Linked DNA regions of Homo sapiens: all the other regions are linked to region 3. Evidence: promoter capture Hi-C in human tissues and cell types (Jung and others, 2019). All regions are on one chromosome and are shown on one strand. Each heading gives the region's core, a stretch centred on a gene start or on the middle of the fragment in contact. The rest is flanking DNA. Distances are from core to core; before and after follow the strand shown.

Region 1 (3,841 bases), core at 81-2,580, 610 kb after region 3:
TACCGACACACAATTGTATTAATGTTATGTATTATCTATTGCTGCATAACAAGTGGTTTAAACCTATACTATCTCATCAGTTTTTGTGGGTCAGGAATTCAGGAGCAGATTAACTGGGTGGATCTGGTTTGGGATCTTAAGAGGTCACAGTCAAGAAGTTGGCTGGGGCTGTAGTTGCTGAAGGCTTGATTGAGGCTGAAATATTTGCCTCTGTGATTATCTCATTCACATAGGTGGCCATAATATTTCATTCGCATAGGTGGCCATAATATCTCATTCACGGAGGTGGCTAGTTGGTGCAGGCTGTTGGCATGAGGTCTCAGTTTCATACCATGTGAACTTTTCCTACGGGGATGCTTTTGTGGCAACTTTGTGTTTACATGACGTTCTTGTTTTTGTCTGCACTCAGACATGATTATGAAGTTGGCATGGTCACAAACCTTGTCTGATGTTGGTGTACTGAGAAATTTTTCATGTTTAGTAGGAAAGACTGTGGCCTACATGTTAGTTCAAGGTCAGCTATGAGCTGACATCTGTCTGTTACATCTGGGGTTTTTTCTTTCCTTTTTTAAAAGTAGGGATAATATTACCTACCTTCTAGGACAGCAAAGATTAAAGATGATGTATACATAGCACCTAGCATAGAACTGAGAATATAGCATGGGTTAATAAATTGTGGCTAATACATGATTGTGATGGTTGTGATGATGATTGGTAGTGATGGTATAATTAGGTCTTTACTTGGAAGAAATAAATTGTCCAGAGTTCCTGGAAGTTTATGTTCTAAACAAATATATTTTTTGCCATATTAATAAATAACATACTATTGTTATTGTCTGTTGGCTTGTCTGTATCTGCAACTAAATTATAAACTATCAAAAAACAAAGGTACAATGTTTGTCTTTTTCACTATTTTCAGCATCATAAACAGTTTCTGTTTATAGATGAGTAAATTAAATGATTCTATTTTTACATTAAAATTGTTTATTTTTAATTGGCAAATAAAAATTATGTATGTTTATTGTGTACATCATGTTTAAATAATTCTTGAAAGAATGAAGTTAAACATAGATCTAATAAAGAGTCTTATTGAAGGCACTCCTTGCACATACCTAGTACTCAACTAGACATATATTATTTCTGGTTGATCCCTGAGTTATATTTATGATCATTGTGTATGATAATAAATATTAGTTATATGATCCAACTAATAGATTTTTAAATTTATTTGAAGAGACACAAATCAATAACTGTTCTTTCCCTATGTGGAAATATAGTACTTTATTTAGTACATTACAGATTACAATAAAATACCCTGGGAATTTGGACATAAAATCAGAACAAGTATCACTTCAGGTTAAAATGTCTAAAAGTTAGTACATAATATAGGCGAGATTAACCATCTGCAGCAAAAAAGCCAGTAGAGACAGCTTCTAAATATTTTGCTGATAGGATAAATATGACCTATATCTTATTTTGGAGATTAAGATTTCATTATAGCTCCTTCAAGGAAACCAGACTGTGTTCTTGGGAAGTAATGACTGTAAGTGTAAATCTGTAACATTCTCAGCAGAATCATCATTGATCTTCAGAAATTAATTGTTGTTTAATGGAATCTAGAAAATTCTTCTGAAAAGCAAGAGGGGAGAGATAGTCTAAGTCAGGATAGCTAAAATATTTTATGAAACAGAAATAGATCAAAACAACAGAAGCAACTTAAGCAGCTTACTTAGCTTGCTGAAAATTTTAAGAATATCTGGCCTCGGCCGGGCGCGGTGGCTCACGCCTGCAATCCCAGCACTTTGGGAGGCCGAGGCGGGGGGATCACGAGGTCAGGAGATCGACACCCTCCTGGCTAACACAGTGAAACCCCGTCTCTACTAAAAATACAAAAAATCAGCCAGACATGGTGGCGGGCACCTGTAGTCCCAGCTACTCGGGAGGTTGAGGCAGGAGAATGGTGTGAACCCAGGAGGCAGAGCTTGCAGTGAGCCGAGACTGCGCCACTGCACACCAGCTTGGACAACAGAGTGAGATTCCGTCTCAAAAAAATTTAAAAAAATTTTAAAAAAAAGAATACCTGGCCTCATTTGTTCTCATTGTAATTCTAAAATTAGGAGACTATCCTAACAAATGAGTGTTACAGATTATTGTTATAGGTATATTTCTCAGTGGAAACTAATACATTTGTATTTCAAAGTCAACATCTTATAATGTTATTTAAATTAGCTGGGGATAGCCTAATGAACTCTCAGGAATTCCAGCTTCTGTGCCTGCCAAAGCATAGGGATCCTCTAAGGCACTGAGCCTCCAGGGACTTTCTCTTGACTTTTCTTTCAGTTTCTTGACGCCATATGCTGCTTCTCCTGTTTCACATTATTACTCAAATGATCCTACCAGGATTGGGTGCTGAGTAAATGTTTATAGAATCAGTTCCTTTTGGTGATCATCTGGTGTAATTATTTTACTACCATTTTAATTGAACAACACAGAAAGTGTATGTCCATGATAGATTATTCTTTTATCAAGCTTGTCTTTATTTTTTTTTTTTGCATCTTAATAAATTAAATGTTTTCTTGGCCATCCTAAGTAGTTTTTATTGTTGGTGGTGGTAGTAATTCGAATGCATTGAAATTGCGCTCATATTTAATTTGAAACACATGAAGGCAGAAAGTATGTTGTTGGAAACAGACAGTGAGAGCACAACGGAGAAATAATTAGTGTGTTCTGTTTTACTCTGCTGTATGTAACTTTTATTCATTCACTTTCCTTATATATTTTTCTGAATTCCATTTTCTCTTTTTCAGTTTTTCTGAGTCATTTTAGATTTCAAATGTAAAAATAATATTACATTATAACAAGATAGTGGCCAGTGTTAGCCCCATTCCAGGGGAACTTCTGTAATCATAAGTAAGAGAGAGCTGCAATGCAAACAAATCTTTGAGAACCAAGGATAATTTTTCTTTTTGTCTGTTTGAGATATAGAAAGTGTCTTCAGATTTTCCTTTTAAATAAAACTATTTAGAACTTAAATTTGTTTTCTAATTTTTAATGGTACCTCCTCCACTACTTTCCCCTTTCCCCATATCTTTCAATTATTAGAAGTTCAGTAAAACAGAGTTCATGGAGATTCCTTTCATCTGTTGCATTTTTCCTCATTCTACTTATATTATACTGTTTTCCTGTGTTTAGCCAATCATCATATATTTGGTTGCCTCTATTCGTTTGGATTTTTAAAATTTTATATCAAATCATTAAACTTTCCTTGTAAGCTTATAGTTATGGTTACCTGTTATCATCATTTATCATAATTTAAATTCTTTCCTTGGTTTTAAAAAAAACTTTTCTACATGATTTCATGCCTTCTGGAGTCTGTATTTATTTTGTTTACTCCTCATCACCTCAGTGGTTTAAGCATTCCTTCTATAAATGACATTATTATTCTTCCTGTTACCTCAGTTCATAATCCGCCAATTCCTCTTCCTCCATTACTCTTGCATTTGCTCTTTTTCATTCCCATAGAAAATAGTTCAGTGTCACCTCTCCTTTTTAAATCTTGCAACAGAATTTTTGTAATGGCTTCCAACCTGTTGTTCTTGCCTTTAGACTGTATTTCATTCATGTTGCCACTCAACAGCTTTCAGATTTATTGTCCAAAACCGTAGTTCTGATCTTGTCATTCTTCTGCTCAAAACCCATCAGTAGTTCTTCATTTCCTACAAAATAAAGTTCTTCACCTTTGGCCTTATCTTGTATCTGCTCTTCAGCTGGAACTTGGCTACTAATATAAACAAATAGGAGATAGCATGGAAAGAATATGGATTTTAGTGTCAGTCACACA
Region 2 (3,863 bases), core at 1,145-3,644, 580 kb after region 3:
CAGTGTATTCCAAGATAAAACGTTTAAGCTAGTTCTCAAAAAGTCTTTAATAGGTTTTTTTAAAAGTGACAACTGAGTAATAATTTTGTAATCACAACTCTAAACATAGATTCCATCCTTAGCCAAACTGTAAATATGTAAGTTAATAATTCAAACATATTTGTTCCTATCATACTCTACATAAATCATTAATAATGTTTCTCAATTTCAGTAATTATTGGAACAGCAGAATACTGCATACTGATAAACTATTTCAACCAACAGCAAAGAAAAATTCTCATTTTTCATATTAGATTAGTGGTTTCTAATTTCCTAGAACAGTACATACGTCTTACTGGTAAAATTTCTATGTATACAAAAAGGTTGTAGGCATGACTCATCTGAGTGGTCCACTTTTTAGGCTACTAATGTAAAAATATCCCTATAAAATTGAAGAATGCAGATAAGACTTCAGAATTGATGATAGAGCATATACTCTTTAAGGAATATATGAATATCCATAATTATAGATCATAATTATTCATATTGCAGAATACATCTCAAAAATTTTTAAGTGGCTAGCAATGGGTTATTGTAAATTGTAAGCCTCTTTTCTCTTATTCAAAACTTTGATTTTCTTCTTACTCTATTAATAAAGCATACCAAACATAAATTTGCCTAGAAATGCAGTTTGGGAGTAAGAATGTAATGAATGAATTTACCAGTAGTTTATCATGTTTAACTAGGGAAAACAGTCATTGTGAATGTTTATAACTTAAGATGATACATGAGTGCCAACTTGTACATAGATGAAGACAAAAGAAATCCAAAATACCATTTTCAACATGCAAGCATAAAATGCTAGTCACACAAAAATGCCAATGCTTTTAAAATAAATTCACTTTTTAATCTACATTTAAAAGCATAAAAATTAACCTTCAAAATGTATAGCCACAGTGACTCAAGTAGAATTTCCAAAAGATGTTTTCTTAAGGATGGCAAGAGGGAATGAATGGTATTAAAGATGCACTTGACTTTCTCCACTGCTGTGAACAGATAATTTGAGGCCTACTCAGGTGTAAATCTAACAAACTCAATACTTTTTAACCCAAGCAAGGTTCCTCTACTTGTTTTTCTATTCCTGTTGTAAAATTTTATACATGATACATAAAACATATATATTATGTATATGTGTGTGTATATATGTATATATGTGTATATGTATGTATATATACATATATATGTATATATGTGTGTATGTATATATACATATATGTATATATGTGTATGTATGCATGTGTGTATATATATACCTATACACACATATATATGTATGCATATGTATATAATATTGGAGGCTCCCACAAAAGAAACTTAGAGAAGGAGAGATAGAGTAGATCCTCTATATCCCCAAGATCCTGAACCATCTCTGTTCTGTATTAGGAAAGTAAAGTTTCTCAGTGATGTTCTGGGGATGGCTATATCTGAGTTTGTGGATTAAGTAAATACTGAGCTGGCTGGATTGTTTGTGTGGGGTATTTTATACTACCTAAGCTCCTCTGCTGTGTGAGTTCCCTAATTTGGGATTATAGCATTTGGCTGACTCTGCTTTGTAGGTGATGTGTCCAAGGCGTCAAACTTCATCAGTTCCTTCCTGTAGTTTTTCCTCTATCCCAGAGGAGAAGATTTGACCATAAAGAATTTAGTCAACTCTAGGATATATCATCATTTAAATATCACCATATATCAGAAGTTCAGCCATGGAGTTGTTTCATTGAGATAATAATTTTCTGAAAGGTATACAGCGACATTGTATTGCTATAAACAAAACAAGTCGAAATTTTCCTTGAACTAATGAACCCACCTGGCCAGTGATGAACTATTTTTGATGGACAAAATATTTCTTTGCCATCTCTAATAGATCCTGTCAATCTGCAAGACTGACATAAGGAAGGCTAAATGACTAAGCCTAATCAGTTAGCAGGTAATAGCTAGTAAGCTGCAGTTCCACAAACCCAATTGGAATAGGGAGGAAGGAGTTACTTACAAATCAATCTTTAAGACTTGCACTAAAGACTTTTTGTCTTATTTCCCTTTATTACTTTGATATTTTTCGTTTCTCAAATATTGCTGAAACTGACATATTTGTGATGAGAACTATTGTTTTTAGCCCCTGAAACTGAGTTATAACAAAGTTTGTCCCCATTCAGACCACATGACTTGTGTAATTTTCAATCAGGTAAATTGGGCCTCTTCAGAGAATCACAAGAAAGGTTTCACAAACCTCAAGTGGATTATGACCACTGGGGACTAGAGCCATCACAGATGTGGAATAACTGGAATTACAAGGGACTGGTAGTATGGAGATATTCTGTGTATGAAAAAGAAAGTTTTCATATACACAGTCATTTTTGCAATACAAATGCACAGGCTGTCACTATGTATTCTGAATATACAGTACTAAGAACTGAATGTGGTTAAGTGCTGAGAAAAAAAGAATGATCTCATGATATTTAGGCTAAATCACCAAAGAATGCCAGAATAATAATTATTAAAAGGGAAAGGTTTCCTAAGGAATTCATTCTGCTGTGTTTTATTTTGTTGTCTCAGGGACAGAAGATGATACCACTGTCATCTCCTTGGTTCAGGGTTATTGGGCAGGATGACTGTCTCTTAAAGTTGTCTGCTTCTGAAGGCTTTTGATGTAGCCTCAGTTTAATATCTCATGTGAAAGAAACCTACTGATTTGGGTTGGCAGTTGTTTCCACAGTGACACAGAAGAAACAAAAACGGTGTCCCAGCAATGTTGTAAAGCATTTTTACATTGATGTGTTATGCATTGTGTATCCTCAAAAAAATACATTGGAGTTATATCCTCCAGGACCTCAGAATGTTACTTCATTTGGAGATATAATCTTTACATATGAAATCAAATTAAAATGCAGTAATTAGGGTAGACCCTAATTCAATGACTGGTGTCCTAATAAAAAAGAAAATCTGGGCACAGAGACATACACACAGGAAGAATAACATGTGAAGACTGGAGTTATGATGCCATAAGCCAAAGGAATTACCAGAGCCAGAAGAGAATCCTGGAACCAATCTTTCCCTGTGACGCATCTTCAAAGGGAGCATGGCCCTCCTTACACCTTGATTTTGGGTTTCGGACTTCTGGCCTCCAGAACAGTAAGACAATACATTTTTGTGTTTTAAGACACTGACCTTGTAGTACTTTGTTATTGTAGCCCTAGGAAACTAATACAATATGTCTTCTAAATGACACACTTCTTGGGTTGGAGGTCATGCAAAATGTTGAGTTGTTTCCTTTGAAGAGGTAGCTCATCCCTGCTGTGCATAAGACTGAGTAAAGGAGGTTAGTTTCTGACACCATCCAGGTAGGTCTGCATGCATCAGTAAAGTTTTTCCTAGTGGTGGAAGGTGTCTTGTAATGATCTTATAGAAAGCCCATGGGAGCTCTGAGGAGAGGACTACATGGTTATTAATGATAGTGGGAAAATGTAGACCTGGGAAAATTAAATGTTTATGAAAATTTGGACAGTGTCATCTTCAGTGTCTCCTTTACTCATTCTACTTCTCTTTAAGACTGGGGTAATGCTAACAGTGAATTTTCTGGGTTAGTGGAAAGATCTAACAGAGTTTCTTTATGCTTATTCTCATGAAATGAGTATTTCCGTTTGGGAATGTATGGTTTAATATTTTAACAACTGTGACAGTGTTAGCTCTTTGGCAAGGAAAAGCATCTATCCAGCCAGAAACTTTTACCAACAATAACTAATGTGTATACATAGCCTAAAGATTTAGGCAGTTGTATAAAGCCTATCTGCAAAACCTCAAGAGTCTTGAGTAGAGGAACTGAACCATGC
Region 3 (3,882 bases), core at 1,216-3,715:
AAATCAAATTATGCAAAATTTACTTAGGAAATAAGATGAATATATGCTGCTTATACCTTGCAGTCAACCCAAATGAGTAAATCCAAAGTCTTCTTATCAAAATTAGAAAAAAATAGTCTACAAAAAAATAAGGCCACTTTCATGAACTAGCTTAGTTTCTTTCATTAGAATTCAGATTCTAACATAAATTACAAAATATTTGATTAATCCTTAAAATGCAGTATAACATTTCTTAAATGCACATTTTGCACATTTTAAGTATTAAAAGCAATTAAAGATATATATTCAATATAAGAGTTAAACACCCTTTTAAAAAATGGATGACATCTGAAGCAGCTTGCACAGTCCGGAAGGCTATGGTCATTCAATGTCTAGTGCGTTTCACCCAGATACATCACTTTTAACTTTTATAATCAGTATCAATACTAAAAACTGCATTCATCACATAATTTCTGAAAAGCCAGAAAGGGCATTTTAACAATTTGCCTTGATATTTGCTTTTTCATCATTCCCCCCTCAAAGTCAATTTGATATATAAATTATGTTATCTTCATCTAGATATTGATGCTTTCCTCATTAAATTACTGAAGGTTTTGAAACCTAGTCAGAGACATTGTTAATTTTGTTGAGAAAGAAAAAAAGTAATAATAAATCTGATTGGCTTAATTATCCCAGTGCTTAAATTTAGCCGGAAGAATTTTATATCAGGAAAATAACTCCTTTATTCTTAGCACATAGCCTTGACTGTCTTTTAAATTTCTCAGATTTCAAAATAAAAGTTTGAATGCCCACTGGAGTCCTCACTCAAGGGCTTTCAAGATCCAATGTGTTCCTTAACAATATATGCCATCCAAGCAGTACCTCTTCAGATATGAGAGTGCTACAAAAAGCTTTTTTTCTTTTTTCTGTCAACAAATGACTTTATTTAATCATATCACTAGGAATTCGGCCCTACTAGAGGTAAGAATGTAATTATTATCCATAGTGAGTTTCTTCTGAAAACATTTAGTCTTAAGAACCATCCCAGCTCCACCTCAGTTAACCTACAAGGAGTAATTCAGTGAGAGAAATCCTAGCCATTGTCTGATTACATTACATGAATATTCTCCCTCCTATTTAACTCTTTGAAAGCCTCTGTCCTCGGGAAATATGATTATCACCTTTAATGGACACATTTTACACTTTCTTTACCCTAGTGCATTTACGGACAGCCAGAGCCAGCTCAACCCACACTACTGGACAGTTATCTCTCAGCCACACCCCCCACCACCTTGAAGAAGTTGACTTCATCATTTCCACACTAAAATTGTTCATCCTGCCCAACAGGACACAGCCAAGTAGGCAGGAGGTAGAGAGATAGGAGATGGAGAGGATGAGGTGAAAGCAAAAGGCACCTAACGGTAATCAACAAGGAGGAATTTGCATCTCATCTTCCCTGGGGGCGGGGTGGGGCCGGGGAGGTGGTCAAAAAATACAGCGAAAGGAGACAGTAAAACTCAAAGACAGCTTCTGTACCTAATGTCTGTGATTTCGGGTCCTTGCTTCTTCAATTGATCAATGACAACCGCAGTCTCCGGCTTGAGGAGAAGGGAGGCTCACACCCAGCACTCCTGGACCATTTCCCTAGCAACGGGAGGAGAAAGGCAGCTCAGACACACGCGTGCCCCGGCGCCCTCCCGGAACGTGCCCCGGCCCGGTGGCGTGGCAGGAGCTCGGCATCTTCCCGTGGCTCCGTCAGCAGCCAAAAGGAGAAGCGTCCATCGGAAAAATGGCATATTACAAATTTTGCTTTGGGAAGCAAAGCTCGGTTCAGACCATTGTCAAAGGAGGAGAGGGGGAGGCGGCTCTTAAAGCAGCCGCGGCCCCTTTGCCAGAACAGCCGCAGCTCCCCGCGTGCAGCTGGAGCCCCGGGGCGGAGACCGGAGACCGGGGACTGGGTTTGACTTTCAGAAACTTAACCACGCGGCGCCGCTCCCCCTCCGCGCCCGGGCCACCCGGGGTGTGTGGGGCGTCCCTCCAAAAGAAAGCTTGGAGAAAAGGCGTGAGAAGTATCTGGGAGAGAAGTTCTCCACCCAGTCTCCCCTCCTGGAGCCCCTCTGGAGTTTAAGGCTAACCCTGGGAGTTAGAAACCTAAAGGAAAACGAGTCCCTAGGGATGCAAAAAGCAGGACAGGTCTCCTCCTGGCCCCCAGCCTGTTTCCGCGCGCTCCCGTGTCTCGTTTCACTTAAAGGAGGCGCTTTTTCTCTGGAAAGGCAAACATCACCCCACGCCGTCCCCCGGCCCCCCTTCCCTCCCCCCCGCCGCCCCCCCGCCGCCACAGCACACACACCCATTTTTCTCCTCCCGGCCTTTCTGCAAGCCTCTTTGCTTGCTTCAATTGGCCGGAAGAACCAACCTGCTGGCAGCCGGTGAGGACGCTACAGCATCTTCTCTCCTCACTTGCCTCGTGCGGTGGCTGCTACTCCTCCTCCTCCGTCTCCTCCCCTCCTCCTCCTTGGCAGCCACCACCTCCTCTTCCTCTGGAACAAGGGCTTCCCCTGGAAGCTGCTGCAGTGGTTTCCACCGGCCCTTAAATAAATTCTGAAGTAATCACGTCTTTGCTCTCCTCCTCACGCACACGCGCCCGCGGATACACTCGTCTCCCCCAGAGCCGCTCCCGGGCTGCCGAGGCTCGCTCTGCTCCCAGTGCCCCCTGCGAAGGCGAGGGCCAGGGATGGGCAAAGTGGGAAGGGGGCACACGCTTCCCCGCCTGGGCTTCTTTCACACAATGGGCTCTACAGCCTTCGCTTGTGTCAGCCTGCGCTGGTGGGGATGGGAACGGACTTGGGCACCTTTTGGCTCCCCGGTCTTCTGTGCTTGTCATTTCTTTAAGCAGCTTTCTTCCCACTGGGCCAGGGCATGGTAGTCATGGTTGTAGGGACCTGAGCCAATCTAGGGTGTGGCGGCATCTGTCATTTCTCATTACCTCTTCAGTTCTTCTTCATTCATATTGTTTTGGTAATGGGAATTGTATGTTAAGTATTCCCTGCCCGAGTAAATTTTAGCTTTGAGCAGAGTCTGGTCTCTCCATCGCGCTCCAGTCCCCCTTATATCTCCACCTCCCTTTACCTACCCTCTTTTCTTTCCGTTGCTGCTGTCCATTCATACAGACTGAGGAAGCAGGAGACAAAATCAGTACCTACTCTGAGCAGAAAGGGAACGTTTCTGTGAGGGAGAGTCACGAATCCTGCTGGGTTTGGTGAAAATGAAGAGGACATGCATGAAGGAATTGGAGGATTAAACACTGAATATATTTTGGGGGTTACTGAAAATATTCTGAGTGTGCTACACGAAAGCCAAAAGACGTGTTTTACTTTTGTGTAACGCCAAGAGTCCAAAGTTAACAAAGAACTAGTATGTAAATAACTGTTCACTTAAAATTAACTACAATATCCAAGAAACAATCTTTGTTTCTGAGGGAAGTATTTAATTCAGTTAGCGACTTTACAATGGAAAGTGGGGTAAAGCTCATGTATTTACCCAACTTCTATTCTAGACTGTTATTTAAATTTTACAACACAACACAATCCTATAAGAAGTATAAAAATAATACGAAAATTCATTAGATGTCAACTGGAGCACTATTTCTCAGACATAATGTGCATACAGATCATCCATGGATCTTGTTAAGTTGTAGATACTGATTCACCAGGAATGGGGTGAAACCTGAAATTCTACCCTTCTAATGACTCCCAGATGGTACTACACTTGAGGAGGAAGGGTCTAGACCACCCAATCGACCCACAATTTGATGTGGCTTAAATACCCCTAACTACAGGAAACTCTTCACCTCACAGGATAGCCTAGTCTATTTTCAGACAAACTTCATATTGTAATAGCTTC

Evidence for each region. Contacts are between HindIII fragments. The study calls those that stand out against the background at their distance.
Region 1: a fragment that was not itself captured here is called in contact with the fragment with the promoter of PPFIA2 in region 3 in 1 of the 25 tissues and cell types used here (lymphoblastoid cells).
Region 2: a fragment that was not itself captured here is called in contact with the fragment with the promoter of PPFIA2 in region 3 in 1 of the 25 tissues and cell types used here (dorsolateral prefrontal cortex).

The regions. Positions count from the first base shown.
Region 1 is chr12:82,364,037-82,367,877 of GRCh38, forward strand. The region is part of intron 1 of METTL25 (methyltransferase like 25); the gene reads left to right. Among named protein-coding and RNA genes, the nearest start is that of METTL25, 7.4 kb to the left of the region's middle. The HindIII fragment of the contact is 3,139 bases long and covers 1-2,900 here.
Region 2 is chr12:82,341,393-82,345,255 of GRCh38, forward strand. No RefSeq gene overlaps it. Among named protein-coding and RNA genes, the nearest start is that of CCDC59, 15 kb to the right of the region's middle. The HindIII fragment of the contact is 4,522 bases long and covers 134-3,863 here.
Region 3 is chr12:81,756,885-81,760,766 of GRCh38, forward strand. PPFIA2 (PPFI scaffold protein A2) reads right to left here and starts at 2,466. Exons shown (of 33, transcript NM_003625.5): 1 at 2,396-2,466; 2 at 1,516-1,623. RefSeq lists an enhancer at 1,326-2,264. The HindIII fragment of the contact is 8,978 bases long and covers 1,459-3,882 here.